6 separate regions of the Homo sapiens genome follow, and regions 1, 2, 4, 5 and 6 are each linked to region 3. Evidence: promoter capture Hi-C in 16 types of primary human blood cells and fetal thymus (Javierre and others, 2016). All regions are on one chromosome and are shown on one strand. The core of a region is centred on a gene start or on the middle of the fragment in contact, and the rest is flanking DNA. Distances in the headings are between cores, read along the strand shown.

What was found. Contacts are between HindIII fragments. The CHiCAGO score rates a contact against its expected background, and 5 or more counts as called.
Region 1: a fragment that was not itself captured here is called in contact with the fragment with the promoter of IRF2BP2 in region 3 in 9 of 17 cell types (monocytes, activated CD4 T cells, non-activated CD4 T cells and 6 more); the score reaches 10.8 in monocytes.
Region 2: a contact is called between a fragment that was not itself captured here and the fragment with the promoter of IRF2BP2 in region 3, in 13 of 17 cell types (erythroblasts, naive B cells, naive CD4 T cells and 10 more). The highest score is 11.2, in erythroblasts.
Region 4: a contact is called between a fragment that was not itself captured here and the fragment with the promoter of IRF2BP2 in region 3, in 1 of 17 cell types (non-activated CD4 T cells). The highest score is 5.2, in non-activated CD4 T cells.
Region 5: a contact is called between a fragment that was not itself captured here and the fragment with the promoter of IRF2BP2 in region 3, in 5 of 17 cell types (monocytes, endothelial precursors, non-activated CD4 T cells and 2 more). The highest score is 7.6, in monocytes.
Region 6: a contact is called between a fragment that was not itself captured here and the fragment with the promoter of IRF2BP2 in region 3, in 15 of 17 cell types (activated CD4 T cells, total CD8 T cells, erythroblasts and 12 more). The highest score is 9.1, in activated CD4 T cells.

What each region holds. Positions count from the first base shown.
Region 1 is chr1:234,940,236-234,944,549 of GRCh38, forward strand. No RefSeq gene overlaps it. Among named protein-coding and RNA genes, the nearest start is that of LINC02971, 15 kb to the right of the region's middle. The HindIII fragment of the contact is 2,240 bases long and covers 678-2,917 here.
Region 2 is chr1:235,105,263-235,109,652 of GRCh38, forward strand. TOMM20 (translocase of outer mitochondrial membrane 20) reads right to left here. Exons shown (of 5, transcript NM_014765.3): 5 at 4,079-4,390. Among named protein-coding and RNA genes, the nearest start is that of SNORA14B, 20 kb to the right of the region's middle. The HindIII fragment of the contact is 653 bases long and covers 2,547-3,199 here.
Region 3 is chr1:234,608,928-234,613,508 of GRCh38, forward strand. It overlaps IRF2BP2 (interferon regulatory factor 2 binding protein 2), which reads right to left and starts at 1,251. Exons shown (of 2, transcript NM_182972.3): 1 at 1-1,251. The coding sequence starts at 567. RefSeq lists silencers at 66-345, 586-665, 1,046-1,145, 1,206-1,395, 1,876-2,475 and enhancers at 726-1,423, 1,526-1,625, 3,776-3,835, 4,116-4,165. The HindIII fragment of the contact is 9,061 bases long and covers 1-4,581 here.
Region 4 is chr1:235,021,514-235,025,728 of GRCh38, forward strand. No RefSeq gene overlaps it. Among named protein-coding and RNA genes, the nearest start is that of LINC03108, 43 kb to the left of the region's middle. RefSeq lists enhancers at 842-891, 932-991, 1,072-1,121, 2,250-2,309. The HindIII fragment of the contact is 8,342 bases long and covers 1-4,215 here.
Region 5 is chr1:234,899,908-234,904,464 of GRCh38, forward strand. It overlaps the pseudogene RN7SL668P. Among named protein-coding and RNA genes, the nearest start is that of LINC02971, 55 kb to the right of the region's middle. The HindIII fragment of the contact is 1,790 bases long and covers 864-2,653 here.
Region 6 is chr1:235,050,362-235,054,521 of GRCh38, forward strand. No RefSeq gene overlaps it. Among named protein-coding and RNA genes, the nearest start is that of LINC01348, 17 kb to the right of the region's middle. RefSeq lists an enhancer at 633-702. The HindIII fragment of the contact is 2,345 bases long and covers 1,114-3,458 here.

The sequences.
Region 1 (4,314 bases), core at 548-3,047, 330 kb after region 3:
ACCTCCTTGCCACCCATTCTCTCTTCCAATAGCCCCAGTCTAGCTCTTCCTTCACCTCTTCCTAAAATAGTTTCCCAAAGACCTACGTTGAGCCAACGCTGATGCTCACACCACTGTCTTTGTCTCGCTCGAGCCCTCAACAGCATCAGAGTTGATCATCTCGTCTTAGAGATACTTCCTTCGGGTGACTTGCCACCCACCTCTATCTGGTTTTTCTCCTCCCTCCTCCCCATGCTTTCTCAGGATCCTTTGTCTCTTCCGGACCTCTACCTATCACTCAAATGCCCCAGAGCTCTGATATTAGCTCTTCTCTCTTCCACATCTACTCTCTCATCTAGTCCCGAGACTTTAAATGTCACCTATATGTAGATGACTTTCAAATGTTATCCCTGTGTCTGTTTATCCCTGAAGCCCTAGACTGGTCTAGCCCAACTGCCCAGCTCAGCATCTCCATTTAGATTTCAAATACGCAGCTCCAACTTCGCATGACCAAAAAGCGTCTCAATCCCAACTTAGCTCCCTAAGCCTCCTCATCTCAATAAATCATGCCAGCAGCATAGGCCAGAAACCTAAGAGTCAGATTTAACTCCTCTTTCTCATCTCCCAGTCATCCCCCAACATCCAGTCCAAGAGTAAAATCCACAGGGTCTACCTTCCTAGCACATCCTGAAACTGAAAGCTTTTCATCATCTCCCCAGACACTCCTCCAGTCTGAGCAGCAGCATCTCCGACTCGGACCCCTGCCGCATCCAGTCCTAACAGGCCTCCCTGCCACCATCGGTCTTGGCTCCTAGGGTTCACCTCCAGACCACAGCCAGAGTGAGTTTTCTATAGCACTGATTAGATCACATCACTCTTGTATTTGTTTCTTGTGGCTGTCATAACAAAGTACCACAAACCGGGAGGTGAAACAAGAGAAATGTATTCTCAGCATTCGGGAGGCCAGAAGTTCAAGATCAAGATGGCAGCAGGATCCGTTTCTTCTGGAGGCTCCAAGGGAGAACCCATTTCCTGCCTCTCTCCTAGCTTTTGGTGGTTGCTGGGAATCTTTGCCACTCTTTGGCTTGTATCGCCCCAACCCCTACCTCCATCTCCACATTACCCTCTTCTCTGTGTGACTCATTTTCTGTTTCTTACAAAGACATTCTTATTGGATTCAGAGCCCACCTTGATCCAGGATGGATCTTCATCCTTGCCTTCATTACTTCTGCAAATAACCTATTTGCAAATAAGGTCACATTCAGAGTTTCCCAGTGGGCGTGAATTTTGGAGGTCACTATTCAACCCACTCTAACTCCCCCACTTAAAACTTCCCAGTGATTTCCTGTTGTCACAAGAATAAAATCCAAATCCCCATCAGGTCCTGGGGATCTAGCATCTGCCTAGTCCTTCGACCTCATTTCCTTCCACCCTGCTTTCGTTCACCACACTCCAGCTACACTGGCTTCTTTCTCTCCCTTGAGCATGCCAAGGTATTCCCACCTCCAACCCTTTGCACTTGCTATTCCTTCCTCTTGGAACACCATTTCCCCAGACTTGCACATGGCTGCCTCTTCATCATTCAGATCAAAACAAAAAATGCCAGGTCAAGAGAATTTTTCTGACTGTTCTGTTAGCTAAATCTACATATAAATCTACATAGCTAAAGCAACCCCCACTGTTAGTCACTACCTCATTACACTACTTTATCTCCTTTGTGGCAAATAACAGTATCTTAAATCACTGGGTTTATTTGTTGATGAACTTACTAGCTACACCCATAAGAAAGTAAGTGCCTTGCGTGCAGGGCTTTCTAACTGGCTTAGAGCCCTACTATTCACACAGTAGGTGCTTGTGGAAGAAATTTTGGACTGGCCCATTCAAAATCCATGGCATCTGGAGTGCAACTACCGTCACAACGGAAAGTTGCCTTCCTGAAATGCAGAAGCTGGAATGCTAAAAACCACATTTCCCAGGCACCCCTGCAACCAAAGTCCCAGTTGTAATTTAAATTCCTCAAATAACAGGTAGTCATGCAAGACTTGAATTTCGAACTGGGTTCAGAGGAGACAGAAGCCTTGGATGTGAGGCATCTGTTTGGGGGGCACAGATTGTAGCAGCTGTATGGCAGCTTTGCAGTGGGTGGCCAGCTTCCTGGTGGTAGCAGGAGCAGCAGCTCTTAGTGGGCTCACCCATGAACATTCAGCCTAGAACTAGATACCTGTGATGTCATTTAGGGACCACCGAGATAATCCAGAAGAATCTCCCCATCTTAAAATTCTTATCACATCTGCAAAATCCTTTTTTTTTTTTTTTTTTCGAGACAGAGCCTCACTCTGTTGCCCAGGCTGCTGGAGTGCAATGGCACCATGTCAGCTCACTGCAATCTCTACCTCCTGGGCTCAAGTGATCCTCCTGCATCAGCCTCTCAAGTAGTTAGGATTACAGGCATTCATCACCATGCCCACCTAACTTTTTGCATTTTTAGTAGAGACGGGGTTTTGCTATGTTGGCCAGGTGGGTCTCGAACTCCTGGCCTCAAGTGATCCACCCTCCTCAGCCTCCCAAAGTGCTGGGATTACAGGCATAAGTCACCTCACCCAGCCCCGCAAAATTCCTTTTATCCAAATAAGGTAAATGTTTTAGTTTTTCCAGGCTGCTGAAACAAACTACTATAAACTGAGTGGCTTACAAACAACAGAAATTTGTTTATCACAGTTCTGGAGGCTGGGAAGTCCAAGGTCAGGACACTGGCAGAGGTGATATCTGGGTGAGACAGGAGAATAGGGAATTAGGGTAACCAAGGGTTAAGGCATAAGCAAAAGAACAGCAGGTGCAGCCAGTTCTAGGCAAGATTAGGCAGCATACAGGCCACATTTTTACTCCAGTGATAACAAGACAGAAGTTTCCATCTCAGCCTCTGATTGATAGCAGGCCAAGCTTCCACTTCAGCCTCTGATTGGTCACAGGGCAATCCTTCATAAGATGGAACCAACTGGAGACCTCTAAAGGGCACCTAGGGGTGTTACCAAATTATTTCAGCTTAATAAAAACCCGAATTGGGAGGTTCTTGAGTTGCCGGCTCGAGCCTGTTCCCACTCTGTGAAGTGTACTTTCGCTTCAATAATCTGTACTTGTGTTACTTCATTCTTTTGTTGCTTCATTTGTCTTTCATTGCTTCATTCTTTTGCTGCTTTGTTTGTGCATTTTGTTCAACTCTTTGTTCAACACCCCAAGAACCTAGACAACTCACAGTCAAGACCTTCCATCCATTAACATGGGGAGGGCTCGCTTCCTGGTTCATACATAGTGATGGACTTTCTTGCTGTGTCCTCACATGGTGGGAGGGACTAGCTCTGCACTCTCTTTTACAAGGGCACCTCCCAAAGGCCCCACCTCCTATTACCGTCACCTTGGGCATTAGGATTTCAGCAGATGAATTTGGGATAGGACACCAATATTCAGCTGTAATATTTATAGGTTCCAGGAATTAGGACCTGATATTTTGGGGGAGGCAATAATTCAGCTTACTACACTGGCCTTGACCAGAAAACTATGTTCTAAGATCTTTTCCAGCTATTCAAAGGGAATGCCACTGGCGTGCGTGCCCGTCTCCTACCCCACCTCCATTTATTTCTCCCTTGAAGGACTTACCTAATGAGGGAAAGTGAGGAGAAAGGGAAAGAGCAAACATGCAATGGCTGCAGACACTCAGCCAAGGGAACTAGGAAGTGCGTGAGCCAAGCTCTGAACAGGTGTAGACACTCAGCCGAGAGACGAAAACGAATAACCAAATTGCTGGAGCATCAGCCAAGTGTATTCAGCTGCATCTGATAGGCCAAGAGAGGGACAAGTGCTTGGCATGTTCACCTTAGCAGACAGGTGCATTGGGCCTGGTATGCCCTTGGAAAAAGATCCCTTCCCAGGTGAGGGCTGGCTTTCCAGGAAAACTCCAGCCAGCCTCGCCCATTTTTAAGGACAAGGAGGAGGAAGGAGGCAAGAGAGAGAATGAGAATAGGGAAGTAGGAACAGATGGCTTCCTGGACCCGAGAGGCTATTCACCAAAGATCAAAAGAAGTGAAGAGATGAAGGAATTATCTGGATAAATTAAGCAAAAATAAAAAGAGGCAATGGGACTTGGGGACCTTTCCAGCCAGGGCCGGTTGTCTACACTGTTAAGCTCACTAGACAATTGTTCAGACTTTTCTGCACGTGAGAGGGCAACAAAAAACTGACCCCAGGGTAGGTCTAAAAGCCCCCGATTCCTTCTCCCATCTTAGCACCCCTTTGACATTAAGTCAAGCCATTCAACCTGAGTAGAAATAAAATAAGAAT
Region 2 (4,390 bases), core at 1,623-4,122, 500 kb after region 3:
CGCTGTGGGAGAGGAAGGCTGTGGGTAGGGAGTAAACTATAACCGAGATGTACACTTACTGTATTTCATGGTGGTTAGTGCCCTGGAACCAACGTTTTTGTTTCGTTTTTCAAATGCAACAGTCTGACAGGTTTTACTAATACTAGCCCTCATCTGGCTTTTACTGAGGTGTCTGTCTCGTGTTACAAACCATTCTGTGTACTGAGGATACAGCAGTGAAAAACAGTTAAAAAAAAAAAAAAAAAAAAAAAAGCCAGGCGCAGTGGCTCAAGCCTGTAATCCCAGCACTTTGGGAGGCCAAGAAGGGCCGATCACTTGAGGTTGTGAGTTCAAAGCCAGCCTCACCAACATGGTGAAACCCTGTCTCTACTAAAAATACAAAAATGTATTTGTACATGGTGGCACATGCCTGTAGTCGCAGCCACTCGGGAGGCTGAGACAGGAGAATTGCTTGAAGCTGGGAGGCTGATGTTGCAGTGAGCCAAGATCGCACCACTGCACTCCAGACTGGGCGACAGGGCAAAACTCCCTCTCCAAATAAAAAAGCTCTAAGTAATCAAATAACCAAGTAATTAATTACCCAAAGTCAGTCAGCAAATGAGTCAGAATTCAAGCCACAATAGCTATTATTCACACTAGTCACTCCTAAATTTTTTTATTTAGTGACAGTGTTTAAATTGAGCTAAGAATGTCTAACAGTATCTGAGTAGCTAAAGATTTGGAAAGTCTTGTCTTCTGCCATCCAACATTTGGTAAAGACATGGTTATTTTAGCCAGCATCCTTTTTTTTTTTTTTTTTTTTTTTGTATTGTTTTGTTGGAGAGAGTTTCACTCTTGTCGCCCAGGCTGGAGTGCAATGGCTCACTGCAACCTCCAACTCCCAGGTTCAAACAGTTCTCCTGCCTCAGCTTCCCAAGTAACTGGGATTACAGGCATGTACCACCACGCCCAGCTAATTTTTGTATTATTAGTAGAGACGGGGTTTCACCATGTTGGACAGGCTGGTCTCAAACTCCTGACGTCAGGTGATCCGCCCACTTTAGCCTCCCAAAGTGCTGGGATTAAAGGCATGAGCCACTGTGCCTGGCCTCTTTTTCTGAATATAAGTGAATTTTAAAAATCTGTCACCTGTGAAAGTAGACTAAATTCCAAGTCGTCAAAGTTCTGAATAAGCTGCCTACCTGGACTGCTGATCTGTAGTTCATCTAGCTCAAGGGAAAGCTAAGAAACAAAACAATCCTGTCTTTTAAAAAGGTTTGGGAAAAGCAGGGTATAGACGGGGCCACAGAGCACCCTTAAATGTTGAACTATAATGACACCTAAGTCATCCCTGTATTTGGCAAGTTTCCATGAAAGGGTGGTTCAAAATGACTCTTAATTATGTTTTTGGGTTTTTTCTAAAAGGCCATCTCAGAATTTTTTTTTTTTTTTTTTTTAGTTTGAAAGCAGCCTGTCCAACATGGTGAAACCTCATCTCTACTAAAAACACACAAAAAATTAACCAGGCATGGAGGTGCACACCTGTAATCCCAGCTACTCGGGAGGCTGAAGCAGGAGAATCGCTTGAACCCGGGAGGAGGAGGCTGCAGTGAGCCAAGGTTGTGCCACTGCACTCCAGCCTGGGCGACAGAGCAGACTGTCTCAAAAAAACAAAACAAAAACCTTTATGAATGCTCTTCAATGGCTGCCAGGTTTGCTTTTTTTTGGCATTTTGTTGTTAGGTTAGGAGGCTATCAAGAAATATGCAGAAAGCTAAATAGATCCCTTCCCTTCTCCTGTTCTCAAACTTACACTATTTCTAATAACCAAGTGAGTTAAGTGGGTTTTAAAATAGATTACTCCTCACAATGTTTCTTTCCTTCCACTTACCTGGCATGTGTAATCCCAAAGAATCTTTTAAATTTTGTGGTGAAAAATCCCATTTCTGTTCATTTGGATTTCCATTCATTATTTACTAGGCATTTAACTATGCTCTATGCTGGGGAATCCGATGGTCAGTAAGACATGCCTTGGGAGCTGTCTGGTAGGAAAGATGGACAAGTCACCAGGAAGTGACAGTAGACATTGGTAAATGCCATAGGAATATCCCAGGAATGGAGATACCAGCATCATCAACATGGGGCACAGAACCCTGGACCTGGGCCGGCTACATTAAGACTCTCTCAATGAGATGGTAAAATCAGGGACTATTTTGTTCATCCAGCTATCTGGGGTGGTAAGCACAGTTGCCCAAGGCATAGGGAGCCCCGCAGGAGGACAGCTGAAGAGGAAGGCACATTTGGGGGAAGGATGGCACATGAGGTGAGATCGGAGTTAATCAGGCCAGATTATGAGGGCCTCGGATGCCATACGAGGGACATGATGTTTCAGATCAATTCCTCAGGCAGCTGTGTGGATTGGCGATGGGACCTGCAATAACTCTGGGTTACCTAAAATAGTGGCAGTGAGGCTGGAAAGAAGTGGGACAGGAGGAAGTCATCAGCTACAGGTGGCTGCTGAAAGCAGAGAGGGAGAAATCACCCAGGAAGAATGGAGACACCAGGGGAAGCTTCTAGATAAAACAGCATCTCTTGGCTGAGCTAAAAGAGGAGCAAATTTGTCTTTTCTCTTTATGAGACAGGGTCTCACTCTGTTGCCCAGGCTAGAGTATAGCAGTGCCATCACGCCTCACTGCAGCCTCGAAGTCCTGGGCCCAAGCGATCCTCCCACCTCAGCCTCGTGAGTAGCTATGACTACAGGTGTGCTCTACATCCAGCCAATTTTTTCACATTTTTGTTGAGACGGGGTCTTCTGACCAGGCAGGGTGGCTCACGCCTGTAATCCCAACACTTTAAAAGGCCGAGGAGGGTGGATTACTTGAGGCCAGGAGTTCGAGACCAGCCTGGCCAACATGGCGAAACCCGTCTCTATGAAAAATGCAAAAATTAGCTGGGTGTGGTGGCGCATGCCTGTAACCACAGCTGCTTGGGAGGCTGAGGCATGAGAATTGCTTGAACCTGAGAGGCATTCCAGCCTGGGCAATAGAGACTAACAAAACAGACAAGTTCTGGAACTCCTAGCCTCAGGTGATCCTCCCACCCCTTGGCCTACCCAAAGTGCTGGGATTACAGGTGAGCATGGCACCTGGCTTAAGGAGTTCTGGCAGAGGCCCTACTCCCTGCCCTGCATCCTGTCTCCCATGGCCTCTGGCTCTAGCCCAAGCTTGTCCAACCTGTGGTCCAGGGCAGCTTTGAATGTGGCCCAACACAAACTTATAAGCTTTCTTAAAACACCATGATTTTTTTTTTTTTTTTTTTTTAGCTCATCAGCTATTGTTAGTGTTAGTGTATTTTATGTGTGGCTGAAGACAATTTTCTTCTTCCAGTGTGGCCCAGGGAAACCAAAAGATTGGACACACCTGCTCTAGCCAACGTTCATTCCAGCCCTCCTGTGTCAATCTGCTCTTCAACTCAGCCTTTCAACACACTCAGGTCCTGCTTATCTGGGCAGTTTGTGGCAGGAGCTGTGGAGGCTAGGGCATACCCCCTTCCACCCTCTCCAAAGCATTACTTTTACTATTAATATAATAACTTTGGAGGTGGCAAAGAGAAATTTATGTTAGAGCAAAACTACAAAAACTCTCATAGATCTGATACTGATGACTTGTACACTTCAGATCATTATCAGTGATGTAGAATACAACGTATTCTCAGCTAGCACGTTCTGCTACCAATTAGCTGCTTTTTACAGTGCTAACGTACACATTCTGTCACCTTAACACAGCTGGTTTCTCTAACAAGCCTTCATGTTTCGCACGTCAGCACCACCACCACTGGGCTCCTCTCACGAACCTGTTGTAACGGGCCTCCCAGGTGACTGCTATCTCCTGACGCTGGGCCCACCACCACCTGGAAGCCCTCAGGCGCTGACACTACCACAGGGATTTTCTTCACCTGGAATCTGAAGCAAATGTGCATTCTTCTGGCAGGGAAGCCTGCGGCCCTAGACATCCTCAAAGACGTTAACAACAAAAAACCCACAGCTTTAGACTCAATAAATTCAGCAGAGTTCACTTCTCCAAACATACGCCAAGCCAAAGTTTTCTCCAAGCCCTTTAATATTCACTTAAACAGTTGAGGCACAAGCAATAATAAAACTGCATTTTTTACGTTACAAAAAGATTTTGTATGTTATCTGCATGATATACCAATTTTCTCAATCTCTTCTGCAATAACATCTCATTAACACTCTGGTCCACATGTTGATTTAATAAAGTCAGAATGGCAGGTGGGAGGATGGTAAAATAAACTTACCAAGGGGCAAAAGGAACCAAACATTTACTGAGTGCCGACTATGCAAGCTCTACTAGGTTTTACACACTTTACATAAACGTGAACCTAAGTTCTAGTTA
Region 3 (4,581 bases), core at 1-2,500:
CACCAGGGTGGGCGGCACCGCGTGGCCGCGCCGCGGGTTCGGGCTCTGGCGATTCAGCTCGGGCGGCTCCTCTAGCTTGGAGAAGCCGTTGGGCACCAGGATGCCGTTCACGGGCGGCGGCTGCGGCGTCGGCGGCTGGGCCAGGCTCGCTGCCGGGCGGCTGCTGCCGAAGTCAGAGCCGAGGCGCGGGGGCCTCTCGGCCGCGGCCGCCAACGGGTAGCGCTCCAAGGCCTGCGGCGCGCGCGGGGCCGCCTCGGGGCCGCCGTGGCCAAGCTGCTGCTGCTGCTGCAAAAGGATGTCCTTGGCGGAGAGCGGCGGCGGCTTGGCGGCGGCCGAGGCCGCGGCGCCGGGTGGGGAGCGACCCTCCGGGAAGCAGCCGTGCGCCCGCTTGAGCTGCCGCGCCGTCTCGATGACGAACTCGACGCGGTCGGCGCCCTCGTAGTTGACGCAGCCGCGGCAGACGGGTTCGGTGAAGTCCCAGATCATGGCCCAGGGCATGCGGGGCAGGTCACACAGGTAGCACGACTGCCGCCGGGACGCGGCCGCCACCGCCACCGCCGCGGCCATGTCCGAGGAGCCCGCGACGCCGGAGGAGGAGGCGGAGGAGGAGGAGGGGGCGCCGCCGCCGCCCCCCACCGGCACCACGCGCGCCCTCCTCCCCCCCCAACCCCGCGTCTCCCCCACCAGCGGCGGCGGCGGCCGCAAAGGCGGCGGCGGCGGCGGCAAAGCCCGCGAAGGCTCGGCGCCCGCGCAGCGCCCCCGGTGCACGAGGGGCGGCGGGCGCGAGGTGAGGGGCTGCAGCCGCGGCAGCAGTTCCCCCCGGCCGGCCCGGGCACGGGCGGGCGGCGCGGCGCGGCGGGGCGGCGGGCGCGGCGGTGGGGGCTCGGCCGGAGCCGCGGCGGGCCTCCAGACCGGGGCGAAGACGGGCCGCGCGGGCGCGGGGGAGCGCAGCAGGTCGCGGCGGCGGCCGGCACGGAGTGCGGGGCGGGGGGCGGGGAGGCCGGGGGGGCAGGGGGCGGGGGGCGGCCGCCGGGGCAGGCTCAGCCCGAGCGGCGGGGCATGCCGCGCCGGGGTGGCGGCGGCCGGGCGGCGTGGAGCTCGGGCGCGGCGCGGGCCCCGGGTCGCTCCGCCGCTCTCTCACAGCTCCTGGCGTCGCCGCTCTCCAGCGCCAGCGTCAGCGGCCAGCCCGCCTCAGCTCCGCCGCCGCCACCGTCGCTGCTGCTGCTGCCGCCGCGACCGCTCCACTTCTACAGACTTGATTCTTCGACAGTCTCGCACGGCGCCTGCGCGGGCCCCCTCCCCTCGTGCGCGTGCCCGCCCTCCCGCGCGCGCGCTCCCCCTCCCCCCGCGCGCCGAAGGAGCGCTGCCGGGAGAGCCGGCTACGCGGCGCCCGCCCGCCCGCGGGGCAGCGCAGCAGCGCAGCGCCGGTGTTCCCTTCGGAACACCGCGCAAAGTGATCGAGTGCTTTTCCTCCACTTTCCCTCACTTCGCGCCCCACCCGGCTGTCCCGACCACCCTCAGGATGTTTTCCTCTGGTGTGCCTCTGGGCCAAATCGTGCTAAAAATCATTTTTTTTCTTTTATGCAAGGACACTTTGTCACTTGGTTTCCGTCAGTCTCCTGAGAATGGGGAATTTAGGTCTAGCGTGGTTCACAGTTCTGGTTTTTTAGGAGTTATACTTGAAAGCTCAATGTCGGACACATAGCATGAAATCCGTCACTGGTGCTTTGCATTTGTCTTGGAAAGGACATACGCCCCGCCTGTCCCTTTTACTAACTAGGGAGACTGTGAATATTCCCAAGCCCAGCACCACGTGCACACGCCGCCAGCTGGCTCGCGCGTTTTCCACGGAGCCCTCTGGAGGGGAGGGAGCGCGGTTCGGACTAGCCTCTCCCGAACACCAAGTGCCGCTCTTAGCCCCGTCCAGCCCGCCCTGTTCATCGGGGGCCTCGCCGCGCCAGTCGCCCCGGCTGCCTTATGTAGGTATGCGCGGCGGGCGCGTGACGTGGGCGCGGGGCCGTGGGCGGCCGCCGCCGCGAGTGCGCACGCTCCGCGCAGACGTGCCTCGGCGCCGCTGGCACTAGGGCCTCGTGGAACGAATGCACATTCCAGGGATCCGGGGTCTACGGCCAGCGCGGCCGCGTCACAGCGCAGGCTCCACCCCCTTCGGCGAGTCTGGGCGTCGAGGCGCCGCCCCCGGGCCCGAACTTGGACTCGAGGTGGCGGGAGGCGAGGGCGCGAGTGGGGGGGGGGGGGGTCCTGCTCGCCTCCGCGAGGTTCCCGAGGGCCGTGGGGGCGACCGGCTGGCTGGCTGGCCCGCCGTCCCGCAGGGCGGGCCGCCGACGGAGGCGGACTTTTGCCCTATATGCCACCCAGGCCGGGATGAGCCCGGCCTGCAGGTCTGCCACCGTTGGCAGCCTCAGACTCAGCCCAGACTGAATTGAATGTTTGAGTTTCGCACTTTTATCGGGAGGAGGAGCTAGTGTGTGTTATGGTAAATCACTTTGGGCTGGTCGTTAGTCTCCCTAATACACGTAGGCTTAGTCGCTCTTCAATTGGGACTTTTACACTTAAGCTCTTTAAGGGCGGCCTCTGGAGCTGCTTTTGTTGGGAACACAGGCCCACAACTCTCCCTTGAGACTGGAATGAGCTGGTTAAGTGTGGGAAGAACAGGGTACTAATTATATTATCTTTCCTACAACTGGATTGGTAGGTGGAGAGAAAAAAAAAATCATGCTGACGTTTCTCTCTAGTCGTTGCTATTGAAAATACCAGGTTGCTTCAAAGGATTAACCACAAGGAAGAGGAAAAACACCCTTAGAGAAACAGTGGAGGGAGCTGCTTAAAACACATGAAAAAACCTGTTCGAAAATGGCACAGAAAACGTAATGTCAGACCTAAATGTTTTTACAGGCTAACCTTGAATGTCTTTTGGGGATTTCCATAGAAGGTGCGCCTGTTTTAAAGGTCTCTGCATCTGTTCCTGGATCTTGCCCTGCAATTGCAATCCTGCCTCACCCTCTCCAAGCTGGGAGAATGGGGCCTGTCCAGATCCTTCCCGGGAGTAGCTGGTGCCAGCGGGTTTGGTCACTCCCAGGCCCTGCTGTTGCACACCGCTTTCAAGACCTGTCCCTTTGGTCACCCTCCTCAGAGACCCTGTGACACTCATTCCAGTACATGCCTTCACCCACTGCGTCACTGCCCAAAGGGGATGAAGTCCAGTCCTTGTGCTGCAGAGAAATGAACCAACTCATCGCCCCCAAGAGACGGCCCCACTAAGCATTGACTGAAACATACTAAAAGAAAACACAACTCACCATTAGAGTTGTGGCCTAATTATACTCATTTCTCTGCAAGCTGGTACTGTAATGGCCTCAAGGGGAGAGCCTGCCACTCCATCCTAAAATAGAATTAGAGATAGAAATTCTGCCACGATACTAAGATCTTTGCAAAACGGAGCTTTTCTTCTCCAAAGGAAGAGCATTTCCTTCTTATTTTACACTGCCAGTTTCATGTCGAAACTGAGTTGTTGTAACTTCCCTAATGAAATGCCCGATGGAAAATGGAAGGGCTATTTTAGTTCTGGGCTCGATCCGGAATCAAGGGGGTTAAGGCTGGATTCAGGGCAGCAATTCCTTATATTGTATCAGAAGTCTTTCATGCAGCCTGGCCTTTCATGTAGCTCTGAAGCAGCTTTATCGATGTATGCTAAGTAAACATAGCTTTGTTTTTGTCTTCCACCCACCGCTCCCTCCCGGCACAGACTGGAGTTGGATCCCATCCAAAGCGGCTGCTGCAGCAGTTACAGCCGCCTCCTCCACACACAGGAGCAGGGTTTCTAGGGTGAGGCAATGCGTCTGCAATTCGCAGAGACAAGGCAGGAATTGTAATTGTAGTTCATCATGTGATGACTTATGAAAGAGGAAGTTGGTATGTTTTAGTCACGTAGACTCTGCCCTCTTGCTTGAGGCACCAGGTCCTCTCAAAAGAGAATTATGATCATCTTTGCCACCCAGAGTCAAGGTTACCGGGTTGGCTGCAGTGTGCTCCTGCACATTCATATACGGACAGGCAGGCAGATGCTGGGCCAAGTGTCGGCGACGCAGCGGGATGAGGCTGGCTTTTCACCAGAACACTAAAATGTTGCAATTTGTCTTAAGGACTAAAGGAAATATTCTATGGAGAACACTCCTGCTGAGACTAGACAAACCAACAGTCCTTTCCAGCTCTAATTTCTGAGAGTTGTTTTTTTTTTTAAATAAAAATCACAGTGTAGGAGTAAAAGGAAAGCCATTCAGTATGACACTATCAGAAAAGCAGGAATAAGGAAGTGGCTTGGAAGGCAAACCTAAGAGAGCAGTTGTAAGCGATAGCTCAATGGGTAGAACTAATGTGACCTTCCGACACTGAGATTGAAACGGGCTTCTACTGCGTGAACGTTAAACATCTAAAATCTGAATCTGGTTTCCAGAGCTTACTCCAGTCAAGCAGCTATTAACACACGGAAGCCCTGAACTGACAGTCTATAGAGCAGTGTAAAGAAACGGTTCCTACAAGAGTACCTTATTGGAACTTTGCCCC
Region 4 (4,215 bases), core at 747-3,246, 410 kb after region 3:
GGAAGCCTGCTTGCAGGGGCAAGGGTTGCCCCCAGTTGGAACTCCTCCAGGGCTGTGATGTGAGGTCTCACTGGCTGGCTTTTCTGTTCCCCGTGGAGCAGGACCATCAGTGTCTCCCCACAAGTACGATCAATATCCTGCCAGTGCTTTGAGTACCCCCAATAACATCAATGCAAATCGCTCAGCCACCCCACAGCATCCGAGACACTTGGAAGTCTCATTAGAACCCTGGACACCCAGCAAGGATGGGAGCAAGAGCTCCCATTCCTGTTCTTTGGGGCCAGATGGGCACCCTTTAGGTCACCCCAAACCAAAGACAGATGGGAGTGGACGCTTCTTTTTCATTGGCATTATTACTGTTATTATTGTTATTACTCCATCTTCACTGAAAAGTTGTTAAGGTGGAAAGAAGTTAAAGCCAGGATCTTATAGCCAGTGGATGACACCAGCCCTTTGATTCTCGGGCCCTGATTGCTTTATTATACCAGGCTCCTGCCCCAAAGGTAAACTATGCCAATGACTTGGGCCTCTGTTTGTTCACTTTAAAAATGTAAGGAGTAGAGGGAGGTCCTACACTCTCTCCGTCCCCCGCTATCCTGGACCCATGATTCTCCAGCCCTGGGGTCCTGACTTGGAGGCGGGCGGCAGGCATACTCCATGTCTCCTGCAGAATGAGCACGGGCCCTCTGAATACCTTCTCCTCCTCAGAACAGCACTTTCTTCGTCCCTGTTAGGAGCCTGCTTTATAAGGTGAGAGACTTTCTTTTCATAATGAAGCCCTTTTTAATTCTGAAAAAAAGTAAAAACCTTTGCTTGGAAGGAGTCCCGGACAGACCCAGCTTACACCAAGCTCCTTGGAAGCTGATAGCATTTCCACGCAGCCCCAGGTGCAGTCACTACGACGTGCTTGGGAGGAGAAGGACGATTTTGTGACCAGACAGAAGAGCTCTCTTCAGTACTTTGCCTGTGAAGCAGCAGCTGTTCTGTGTTCCTCTGTCCAGGAAACGAGAGATCAACTCAGAGAAAATTCAGAGAAAAGCAACAAAGATGATTAATGAGCTAGAAAAGCAAGTGACAGCCTTGCGGGGGAATACATTGGCAGAGCTGGATGGATATCACACACCAGATCCGTGCGTGTGAGCAGGAGCTGGCCACAGAGAGAGAGAGGAACTGTTTGGTTAGGGCCCAGGCAGTATCCATACTATAGAAGTAACGGGAATGAAATGGAGAGGAAAGGAAGATGTCAGCTGAAAATCAGAAACAAGTTCCTCACCAAGACACTCCCCTCTCACGACAAGGATGGAAAGCATGTTGCTTTAGCTGTTATCATGGAAGGCCCAGAAAAGGCCTTGGGAGAATCCAGTTTCAGGAAAGTGTGGAAAAATACCAGAGAGCTGTGGAGAGCCCATGGGGATCCTACAGAACAGCCTCTAGACGTCGACAGCCCTGTCATGAATTAGAATCTTTGGACAAGGTGGCAAGCCAACCAGATCCTACAGCAGCCGACAAGCGACCAAGGCTACACAGCCTTGCCTGGGACAGCTTCACGTGGTCACTGTGATTTAGATGATAATAAATAGCCCTCCCCGGCAGCCATGCAGACCTTGGGAATAAGTCTTCTTTTCTTGGTCCATTGAAGTCACTGGAACCCATCAGCAAAGTTTCATCCCCATTTGTAAATCACTGCCTTAGTCATGCAACGTAGCTCTTAAACAACTGAGGGTGTTTGTTTTTCATTCTCGTAGGCTACAAAGCGTAGATGCTAATACTGGCCGGAAAGCAGCCTTTGTTCCTATAGTTCCTGCACACTCCATCTCCCAGCTTTACTTTTCTGCTAAGGTACCGGGCCCATAGAGCTCTTTGATTGCATGTCATTACAGTACAAAATAAACAGGAGAGGTGGCCCTGGGGGCTGCCACCAGGGCAGAAGGCTGCTGTTAAATCTGGAAAACTGACTCCTGGCCATCCCTGGTCCGGATGCAGGTTATTTTTGCAGCAGCCTCTGACCCCAGACACCCTGTGGTCTCCTCTTACACATCCTCCCCATGCACTGCTTCCACCTGTTGGCTTTTGTCACCATCAGCCCCAAAGTGTCTGCACTGCCCAGACCCCACACTCATCTGAGTCCTTTCCCACACTTCCTCCCCGCCGTCTTGCTTGCTTCTGAAAGTCAGCAGGCACCACGAGGAAGGGGATTTCTCTGTCAGCCTACATGAAACTTTCACGGTGGACAGATTTCTTCAATCCAGAAAAGCCTTCGGGGGAGGGGTGGGAGGGCTCCAGTCAGAAATCCTAGAGGGTTGGCCCCGTGGAGAGAGGCTTCCACACGCCCTGCCTGCTGCTGCGGGTAGGATGCTTGGTGAGGTTCATGGTGGCCAAAGCTATAGGACTCCTCACTCAAACCCCTCAGCCTGACCCTACAGAAATGTGCTCTGCCTTGGAGAAGCCAATTAACCTCTCTGGAGGTCATTCCTTCATACCATATCACAGTGACCACAATTCTAATGCAGAGGCAGAAGACTCAACTAATTCTGCATGAAGAGAATGTGCTCATATAATTCAAATTTCCTATATTCAAGGTTTCTCCAGTAGACATGAGTATTCTAATCGGAGCACGGTATTGCACAAATGATCAAGCTCAAGGGCACAGAGTATTAGAGAAATTTGCCCAACCTCACAGACTGTGTCACGCAGCAGGGTCAAGTTTCAAACCCAATCAATCCTGTCTTATGCCAAAGCCCTTGATTTTTCAGTTATGTCCACTGTTCTGCAGTGAGTCCAACAAAATATTTGTTTCCAGTGGTTAGACTGAACTCTCTGAGACCCCGTGGTCATGTGAAGATAGCTGTGTTCATCAGAGCGCTTGGTGACTAGTAGCTTAGGAAAAAAAATAACAAATTGGAAGATTGGGAACAATAGCTCATGCCTGTAATTCCAACATTTTGGGAGGACTAGGCAGGAGGATCGCTTGAGGCCAGGAGTTTGAGACCAGCCTGGACAGCATAGAGAGACCCTGTCTCCACAAAAAATAAAAAAATTAAAAAAAAATTCGCCAGGAGTGGTGGCACGCCTGTAGTCCTAGTAACTAGGGAGGCTGAGGCAGGAGGACCACTTGAGCTCTGGAGTTTGAGGTTATGGGGAGCTATGATTGTGCCAATGCACTCCAGCCTGTGAAACAGAAAAAGACCTTGTCTCTGAAATAAAAATAACAAACTGCCCCAGTGCTGAGAAGGTCTGGGAATAGATTTTAAGCATGGCTGGGCCCACAGCTCAGACAATGTTCTGAAGTGCCTGTCTCTGCTTTTGTTATTTGGTGTTATTCTTAAGCAAGTTTTCCCCTCCCAGGGAAGGAAAACAGCTGGCAGTGACCCCAGACTCACATCCTCACTGAGCAGCCCAGAGAACAGCAGCTCTAGGAAAAGCACTGGGATTGGGTCTCACTGAGCCAGTTTGTGTCATCAGCTGGGATTGGGTTTCATTGAGCCAGTTTGTGTCTTTAGCCTCATTGTTTAGCTGGTCACTGCATTTAGGAGGTTGAAATATGCTGAGCGACCAGGTCTGGACACGAAGGCCACCCTTTGAGTATTAAGGAGGAAAAATCCACTGAAAGACCTAGTGGTGAGGAGGAGTGAGAAGAAAGGAGAAGGGCAGGAGGCCTGTGGGAAGGGGCGTCACTGGGGAGAGCCTCAGGGGACAGATGACAGGACTCACAACAGAGTGATGCTCAGCCTGCTCCACGGCCATCTGCAACCTGCTCTGAGGATGGGGACCCAGTGACAGTGAACCGTGAAGGAGAGACAAATCTGCCTCTCACCCCAATCACAAGAGCTGCCTGCTCTGGCCAGATCCTGAGCATGGGCAGCAGAGCCTGTCTGAGGTCCTCCGCTTCTTGCGGAGCTTCTGTCCTCACTCTGGAGGAACAGTGAGGATGGAGCCTCTACCCTAGCCAGGAAGAAGAAAACAGCTCCAGAAGCTGAGGAGACCACAGGGCCTCTCTCATAAGAACAAGGATGGCCATCTATGACACAACATATGGCCCACAGTGTTCACTAAAAAATTGCTAAAAGCAGGCCAGGTGCAGTGGCTCACTCCAGTAATCCCAGCACTTCGGAGACTGAGGCAGGAGATCCCTTGAGCCCAGGAGTTCAAGACCAGCCTGGGCAACATGGCGAAACCTCATCTCTACAAAAACAAAAAAGAAAGCAAAAACGTAAC
Region 5 (4,557 bases), core at 509-3,008, 290 kb after region 3:
CCGATGCTAATGAGAAGGAAGCATGTGGGTCCCGGGGAGACCAAGTCTCAGCATGCGGCGCTCAATGAAGTCAAGCAATCGTCCAAAGTGAAATATTGAATTGAAATGAACCTGCTGTTTCTGCAAGAAGATGTTTTTGGGCTAAGGCAGTTTCAAGATGCAATCCAACCAAAACATCCGTGAAACCAGAGAAACGGGGATCCTTGAGAACAGTCGCATTACAGCACAATTTAAATACATTCTGAATGTGTTTTTAGACATACCTAATTTCACCGGGCTCAAAGCTCAACTTATGGAGGGGATCGATGAATCGTGGGCGTCGTTACAGTCATGGGTTTTCCTTGTGAGAGTCTTCCAACTTTTTCAAAATGCGAGATTTTGCCAGGGTGATCTGGGCCAGCCCTTATCTTGCCACGCTGGTTGTAGAAATCTTAGTGGTGACCCTTCTGTAACATGGACACCATGAAAATGCTGCATGGGCCTTATCGACTCACACATTCACTTTTTGAAAATTTTTGTTTGTATGCTCATTCTATATGGGAATGCCGATCACATTCTGGGTCTCATTTTCAGACCCTCAGGGACAAGAAACTCAAACCTCTTCTCCATATCTTTTGTCCTATGTCTTTGGGGAAGGGGAAAAATACTACTGGGGCGGCCACAGTCAGCCAGGAGAGAATCAGGGGACCAGGTGAAGTGAGCAGGTAGAGGGGAACTGATGCAGCACAGGGCCTGGGGGAAGATACAGCAAATAAGTGAGATCAGGAACACGGTGAGAGCAAAGACAGGGTCAGACACAGGTCAGACCCAATCAGGACAGGGCCCACAGAGTGCAATCCAGCCTGAGACAGTGCCTGGACAGAAGCTTCCCAGAGAGATGACTGCAGCTGTTTCAGGCCTGCACGTGCTACAACCTTATGCCAACTACAAAAGGATACTCTTAGTCTGGGCCAACTGACCACACAGCCTTTACTCCAACTCTGCACCACTTCAGGAACCAACTGGAACAGAAGTGACCCATGGAGCCGCCCATGCCTCTTAAAAGCACCCTTCTGTCTAAGAAGGATGCCTCATCCAGAACCCCTGGAGCAAGGATAAGTCGCTACCAGGAGGTAAAAAGAGACAGCCTCGAGTGGTTATTCTTCAGCAGGGTCTTGCTCTATATGAGTAGTCAGCACTCTCAGGAGACACAGGCAAAAGGGACTCCTCCCCTGAGATGGTTTAGACAGCGCCACAGTCACAAATGCAAACAAACAAACAAAAAAATGTAATTTCTTTTTTTTTTTTCTTTTTTCTTTTTTTGAGAAGGAGTTTCCCTCTTTCGCCCAGGCCAGACTGCAGTGGTGCTATCTCGGCTCACTGCAAGCTCCGCCTCCCGGGTTCACACCATTCTCCTGCCTCAGCCTCCTGAGTAGCTGGGATCACAGGCGCCCACCACTGCGCCCGGCTAAAAAAAAACGTCATTTCATTAATGCTCACGGAGGTCCCTCAGTCGCTTGGGATCCAGCACTCATAATCCCAAACATCCACTCTTGTAGCCAGGAAACCCTTCTCCGTGGCTTCCCCATATTTTTTGCCCTATGTCTTTGTGGGGAGGGCTAAGGAAAGCCGCTCCCTCCAGGTGCCATGGAGGTCTGTGGACTGCACTGTGGCTGCTGATGTCGGAGAGGACAGTGTTTTGGAGTGGGAGATGATTTGAGTTGCTGACTAATATGGGTGAGAGAAAAGACAAATTCATATGACCTTTTCCCTCGGATACCATGAATGAACAGATTCTTGCATAACGAATAATCGTTTCCCAGTGGAGCGGTTCACCCATTTCCCCACCTCTCTTCCTGCTCTGATTCCTGTTCCTGGAGATACTGAAGAAGTAACATGGTATTTGCAACAATGGTACAAGGTAGCAGAGGAATATCGTGCAACGTTTAACAATTCCTGTTATTCTTAAGCCAGTATCTACGTCGATCTACATGCACCCATGCATGATGTAAAACAGAGCTTCTTTAGGTTGGCAACTGGATGGAAATTGAATGCTAGAAATGTGAAGTATGACTTACAAAAGTATTTAATAAGATTTTGTTTCATTTACAGAAAATCAAATTTAAAAGTCAGTTTTATTTCAAGAATTTTTATTTACCATTTTGACACTTATTAATTATAATTTGTAATTTTGCGTTTGACTTTTCATGTTAATGTTACAAGAAAAAATAACTTCTTTGAAAATAGATATGAGAAAATGCCTCTTTGATGTTTTCACATGTATTTTCTCATTTTTGATGAAAATATATTCAAATTTTGCATACTTTAAATACATTTACATTTTTAAAATCCTTTAGCTCATTGCTATCAATAGAACAAAATTATGTAAAAATGTTCATTGTAATGACAGAATCTGTGATCACGATGAAATTAAGGCAAAAAAATTAAGGAAGTAAATATATGATCGTTATAAATTATGAGTCTTTATTTTGTTAGTCATTCAAACAAAACAAAAGAATATTTAAACCTGTATGGCAATAATTGATTCAGTCGTTTTTTATATCTGCTAACTTTGGATCATGTAAAAACTATAGCTTTACCTAATTTTTCAATTTTGTCTTTATGCATATTTTTGAAGTATGAGAACAAACTGTATTTTTTCTAACTCTTTGTAAGCTTGATTGATATTTCTGTATATTTGGGCAAACGAGGGACTTTCTCTGCACTCCTGCCCTGGGCTCTGCATATGTTAGAGGTAGACCCTTCAGTATGAAGAGGATGAGGCCACACACACACAAACATGGAGGGCAGGCAGTATCCGTTTTCCTTTAAGTAACCACCTTTAGATGACTTCAGAACACCTTCAGCTTTTGTTTACAGAAATTTCGTTTGGCCTTTGTAGGAACTTTTCTCACAAGTCTTGCGTACCCAGCACGTAGCTCGGTGCCTGACACAGGAGCCATTCAATCAGCATTTGTTGACCTTCTGCACCTGACAAGCCACCCCGGGTGCTGTAGCTTCCACTCTTCTATTCATTACACATGAGAAGAGAATATGAAACCTCAACAGATTGTGACTGAAGTCTAGATGGTTTCATCAACAGCTGTACATCCCCCAAAAGGAGATACTGAATTGGATTTCACTCATAGGTCACAATTCGACACAACTGTAAACTGTCACCATCACCCTCAAACACAGGGGTGCCATCACTCCAGAAACAGGGGCCTGAAAAATCTTATTATTATATCCCTTAGGTGGCATGCATCACAGGGCACCAAAGTCCCCCCTTCCTTTGTTTCTGGAAGAAAAAGGACCGCCATGGGAACCGAGCTGCTGTATCTGTGAGTGCTTCACAGCAAGAGAAAGTGAAGAGGTGTGTGGGGTAGCAGAAGGCAGTATGACAACCCAGGCTGGGGAACAACAGCTGAGCTTCACATCACAAGGGGATGCATTTTCAGCCAGCCACACACACACCCCCCAGGATGCCAGGTTGCAAAACACTCAAATTCATCTGGAAGCAATAGCACCACCAAAGATCATTTTCACCAAGTAATGAAACAGGTCAGACCACCTTTTTCTTATCTACACATAACAGATTCATTTCTCCCAAACAGTAGGTATAGTATTGTCTTTGCCCCTGGGGTTAGTTCTTCTCAACCTTTTACACAAAATGGCACAGGTATAAAATAATATTTCTGTGGCACGCAGGGGTAAATGGGAGGCTGCTGTTCAAAGCAGGTGATTGGCCCAGGACTTCTGGCTGCTGCTGGCCCCAAGGAGGTGGGAGTCACAGAATTTTGGCACAGCTGAAATGCATTTGGCACAGGCCTCAGTCCATCCATTGGGAAGCCTTGCTACAAGACGATGCCTTTCCTAATACAGTTCCAGAAAGTAGATGGAAGGGGTCCTTTATAATCGTAGATGCACCACTCACCAAGGGAAGGGGCTGAAGAAAGACCTGCCATACATTGTGTGAAGTGGCTCTGCCTTCAATTTCATGGCCAAAGCACAGTCCTGCCCACTTGAAGAAATAGGATCTACCTTAGGAAGATGAGAGAGGTCCTTGGAGGCTTTACTCCTGATTTCCTCTTCTCGTACCCACTTTCCCACCAGGGAAGAGCTCCCTGCCCTACTTCGGGATCTTGACTTCCCTGGTGGGCTCCTCAGATTCTCCCCTCACTCAAACAGAGAGGGCCACCCAGCAGTGATGTTCCCTGCTCCTTTGGCAGAGCTTCCAGCCGCCTAAGATGCTGCCTCAACAGCATTTACATGTTTAGGCTTTCATCTCTAAGGAATTTTTCCGGGCATGGGGGTGCATGCCTGTAATCCCAGCTATTCTGGAGGCTGAAGCAGGAAGATCGCTTGAGCCCGGGAGTTCTGGGCTGCGGTGCGCTGTGCTGATCAGGTGTCCACACTAGGTTCAGCATCACTAAGGTGACCTCCTGGGAGCCAGGGACCACCAGCTTGTCTAAGGTGGGTGAACAGACCCCGCCCGGGTCGGAAACGGAACAGGTCAAAACTCCCATGTCCATCAATAAGGGGATCGTGCCTGTGAATAGCCACTGTACTCCAGGCTGG
Region 6 (4,160 bases), core at 1,036-3,535, 440 kb after region 3:
TTAGGCTGGGCGCGGTGGCTCATGCCTGTAATCCCAGCACTTTGGGAGTCCGAGGCGGGCGGATCACGAGGTCAGGAGATCGAGACCATCCTGGCTAACACGGTGAAACCCCGTCTCTACTAAAAATACAAAAAAAAATTAGCCAGGCACAGTGGCGGGCGCCTGTAGTCCCAGCTATTCTGGAGGCTGAGGCAGGAGAATGGCGTGAACCTGGGAGGTAGAGCTTGCAGTGAGCCGAGATCGCGCCACTGCACTCCAGCCTGGGCGACAGAGTAAGACTCCGTCTCTAAAAAAAAAAAAATATATTAGCTGGACGTGTTGGCATGCACCTGTAATCCCAGCTACTCAGGAGGCTGAGGCAGGAGAATGGCCTGAACCCAGGGGGGCGGAGGCTGCAGTGAGCCTAGATCATGCCATTGCACTCCAGTCTGGGCGACAAGAGTGAAACTCCATCTTAAAAAAAATAAAAAAATAGAAGCTGTAAACATATGGCTGTGCCTCAGGACTGCCCGGCTTCAGCACTGCTCTGAAGTCAGGGCCGGCAGAGAGCAGAGCTTACTACCAGAGGACGTGAGTGTGAATCCTGCAGCTGGCTGCACCACTTGTCTGAGCGGGACACCAAGCCCAGCTCTGGCTACTGCCACTGCTTCTCCCTAGGGGCCTGCCCCAAGCCCCACTCCTGGGCTGAGGTCTGGCCCCTCCCCTCCCCTTGCTAATCATAGTGCCCTGTCATAGGTGATGTCATTTCCCAGTACACTGAGAAACGCGAGGGTGGGAGCTTTGGCCTGTCCAAATCCCAGCACCCATCACATAAAATGCAAAATGAAACACACCAACCACAGATAAAGTCCAGATGGTATTCTTATTGCTGGCATTGCAATATCAGTAAGTATCAGCAAGTAACGATCATTCCCCACACCTCCCTTTCTTGGGTCTAAGGAAAACTTGTAAGGTTGTGTGGATCCACGTCGAGGACTGTCTGCTTGGAGGTGGGAGACTCTTCTGGGGAAAGGCAGATGGTGAAGAAAAACAAGAGCTGTTTTGCTGTTGTTGCTTTTAATCAATCTTTTATTCACAGCTACAAACTTTAATCAATTATGGATAAAACACAAAAGCTTTTTGAAATGCTGATAAAGGAACCCATACCGAGAGACCAAATAAAATCCGAGTGCTGAGCTGGCCATGGGCTTGGCAGGTCAGCAGCACATGGAGGCACAGAGATGGTGGCACCAACAGAAAGGAATGTGGGAAAATTTTGTCCCCCAGATAATATGAATAGAACAGTAAAATGAGGTTCAGGGTTGAAATGGCAAAGCCAACGTTGCTGTCATTCTCTTGGGTCCCTTCCATGTGCTGGGCTACGATTATAAATGGGGCATGCTGGCTGCATGCCAGGGGCTCCTGGCCTCCAGGAGACAGACACTGTCACACCAGGCTGAGCAAGTGCCATAAAGTCAGGGATTGCTTGGGGCCAGGAGTTAAAGACCAGCCTGGGCAACACAGCAAGATGCCATTTCTACAAAAAAAAAAAATAATAAATAATAATTATATATATATATATATATATATATATTTTTTAGCCAGGCGTTGCAGTGCACGCCTGTAGTCCTAGCTACTTGGGCAGCTGAGGTGGGAGGATGGCTTGAGTCCAAGAGTTCGAGGCTGCAGTGAGCAATGATCAAGCCAATGCACTCCAGCCTGGGTGACAGAGCAAGACAAGACCCCGTCAATCAATCAATCAGTAATAAAACAGGCCACTGGCCAGATTTGGCCTACAAGGCAGTAGTTTGCCTGCCCCTGGTTCAGATTAGAAAATATAGAGTTGAAATCCACTAGCATAGTCCCTCCAAGTCCTGCTTTTCTTCCCCCTTCCTATTCCACATGCCTGGATATTTTGTCATATCCAGTGATTCCAAGACATTGCTAAATGATCTGAAGATTACAGTGAGCTTGCCTTCATCTAAGCTCAAGAGACTGCAGTGCATAAAGATAATTTGTTCAACAGAGTGAGAACTGCTTTGCCAGGAGCGCTGAGTGTTTTAGTAATCAATCAATCAATCAGTCAGAGAAGAACTCATTAGGCGCATGGTGCTGTTCCACACTGGAGATGTGCAGAGCGTTGAGGCTGGATCCTCACAAGTGTTGAGGCTGGATCCTGGCACGTGGGTTGGTGAGAAATTCCTACTTCCCTATTGCCCGGGTACTCATTGCAGTTTCACACAGTTTTAGTTGTGTATAATCCTTGAGAGTCACATTTTCCATTTCTTAACCTATACAATGAAGAAATTCAACTAAATGGCAATGTGATTTTGTGTGTGCACCAGGGGACTTCTCAGCGAGGGCTTCTTGGAGATGTCTTGAAGGCGGCCATGTGCCATGTACGAGGACTGGCCTCAGGGCAGGCTGAGCCATGGGGGAGGGCTCTTAACTTGAGCCCCAGAGATGGAGGCTGTAGTGAGCCATCATCTCGCCACTGCACTCTAGCTGGACAACGGAGCAAAACGCCATCTCAAGAAAACAAAAGTATTCATTGTTTATATGAAATTCAATTCAAATTTAGCTGAGCATCTTGCCTGTTTATTTGCTAAATCTGGTAGCTCTCTAGGGAGAGAAGCAAGTTCACATTTGAGTGTCTGGACCTCCCAGCAACATACTAGTTGGTTCCTACAACCTGTGCGTGGGCATCAGTGCATGGAAATGGCGACAGGGAGAGATAATAAAACAGAAATAGAGGAGGGTAAGTAATTGAAGCCTCAGTATTTTTGCTGTCATTGCAAGAAGAAGGAAATGCTCTGACATATGGTGTAGATGAAGAGTTGAAAACTCAATGTCAGCCAGGCGCAGTGGCTCACGCCTGTAATCCCAACACTCTGGGAGACTGAGGTGGGTGGATCACCTGAGGTCAGGAGTTTGAGACCAGCCTGGCCAACATGGTGAAACCCCGTATCTACTAAAAATACAAAAATTATCCGGGCGTGGTGGCAGGCGCCTATAATCCCATCTGCTCAGGAGACTGAGGCAGGAGAATCGCTTGAACCCAGGAGGCGGAGGTTGCAGTGAGCCGAGATTGTGCCACTGCAGTCCAACCTGGGTGACAGAGTGAGACTGTCTCAAAAAAGAAAGAACAATGCCACAAGGACCTGGACAAGGAGTAAAAGTAAGTCAAGTGGAATGGATATAGCCACAGGGAACAGTGGGGACATGGGACACTGCGGGGGGTGCATGCCCCGCCTAAGAGGTCTGCTGGTACCTCGCTCCAGCTCACTCTGCCATGTGATCTTCAGGGCTCAGTGTGGAAGAGCTGATTCTCCTCAGGTTGACAGTCCTGGTAACCTCAACTGTGGATAGTGAGGCTGATTTCAGAAAGAGTTTTGGAGAGCCCGCAGAGTTCATGAGTAAAGCTGAATATAGTCCCAGCCTCAGCAAATGAAGGCTCCTTCAGCACTAAACCAACTACAAGCTTCACCTGGAAGCAGCACTGCCAGATAAACACAAGACACCCAGTTAAATGTGAACTTCAGATAAACAATGAATACCCTTTCTGTATAAATACATCCCAAATATTGCATGGAACATATACCCAAAAAATATATATTTGTTGGCCAGGCATGGTGGCTCACACCCATAATCCCAGCACTTTGGGAGGCCAACGTGGGAGGATTGCTGAAGCCAGGGGTTTGAGACCAGCCTGGGCAACATAGTGAGACCCCATCTCTACAGAAATAAAATAATTAGCTGGGCATGGTGGTGCACACCTGGTAGTTCTAGCTACTTGGGAGGCTGAGGTGGGAGGATAACTTGAGCCCAAGAGATGGAGTCTGCAGTGCACTCTGATCCTGCCATTGAACTCTAGCCTAGACAACAGAGTGAGACTCTGTCTCAAAAAAAAAAAAAGTATTCATTGTTTACATGAAATTCTATTCCAATTTAACTAAACGTCTTGCCCTTTTATTTGCTAAATCTGGTAGCTCTCTAGAGAGAGAAGCAAATTCACATTTGAGTGTCTGGACCTCCCAGTAACATGCTAGGTGATTCCTATGTACTCTCCTTGATGCCAAAAGATGGATGTTCTAGAACCGTCTTGGCCCCTCACCAGTTGTATGTTCCCTGTCCCTCTGAGCCTCGGTTTCCTCATCTCTTAGGTGGACATGGGAATTCCT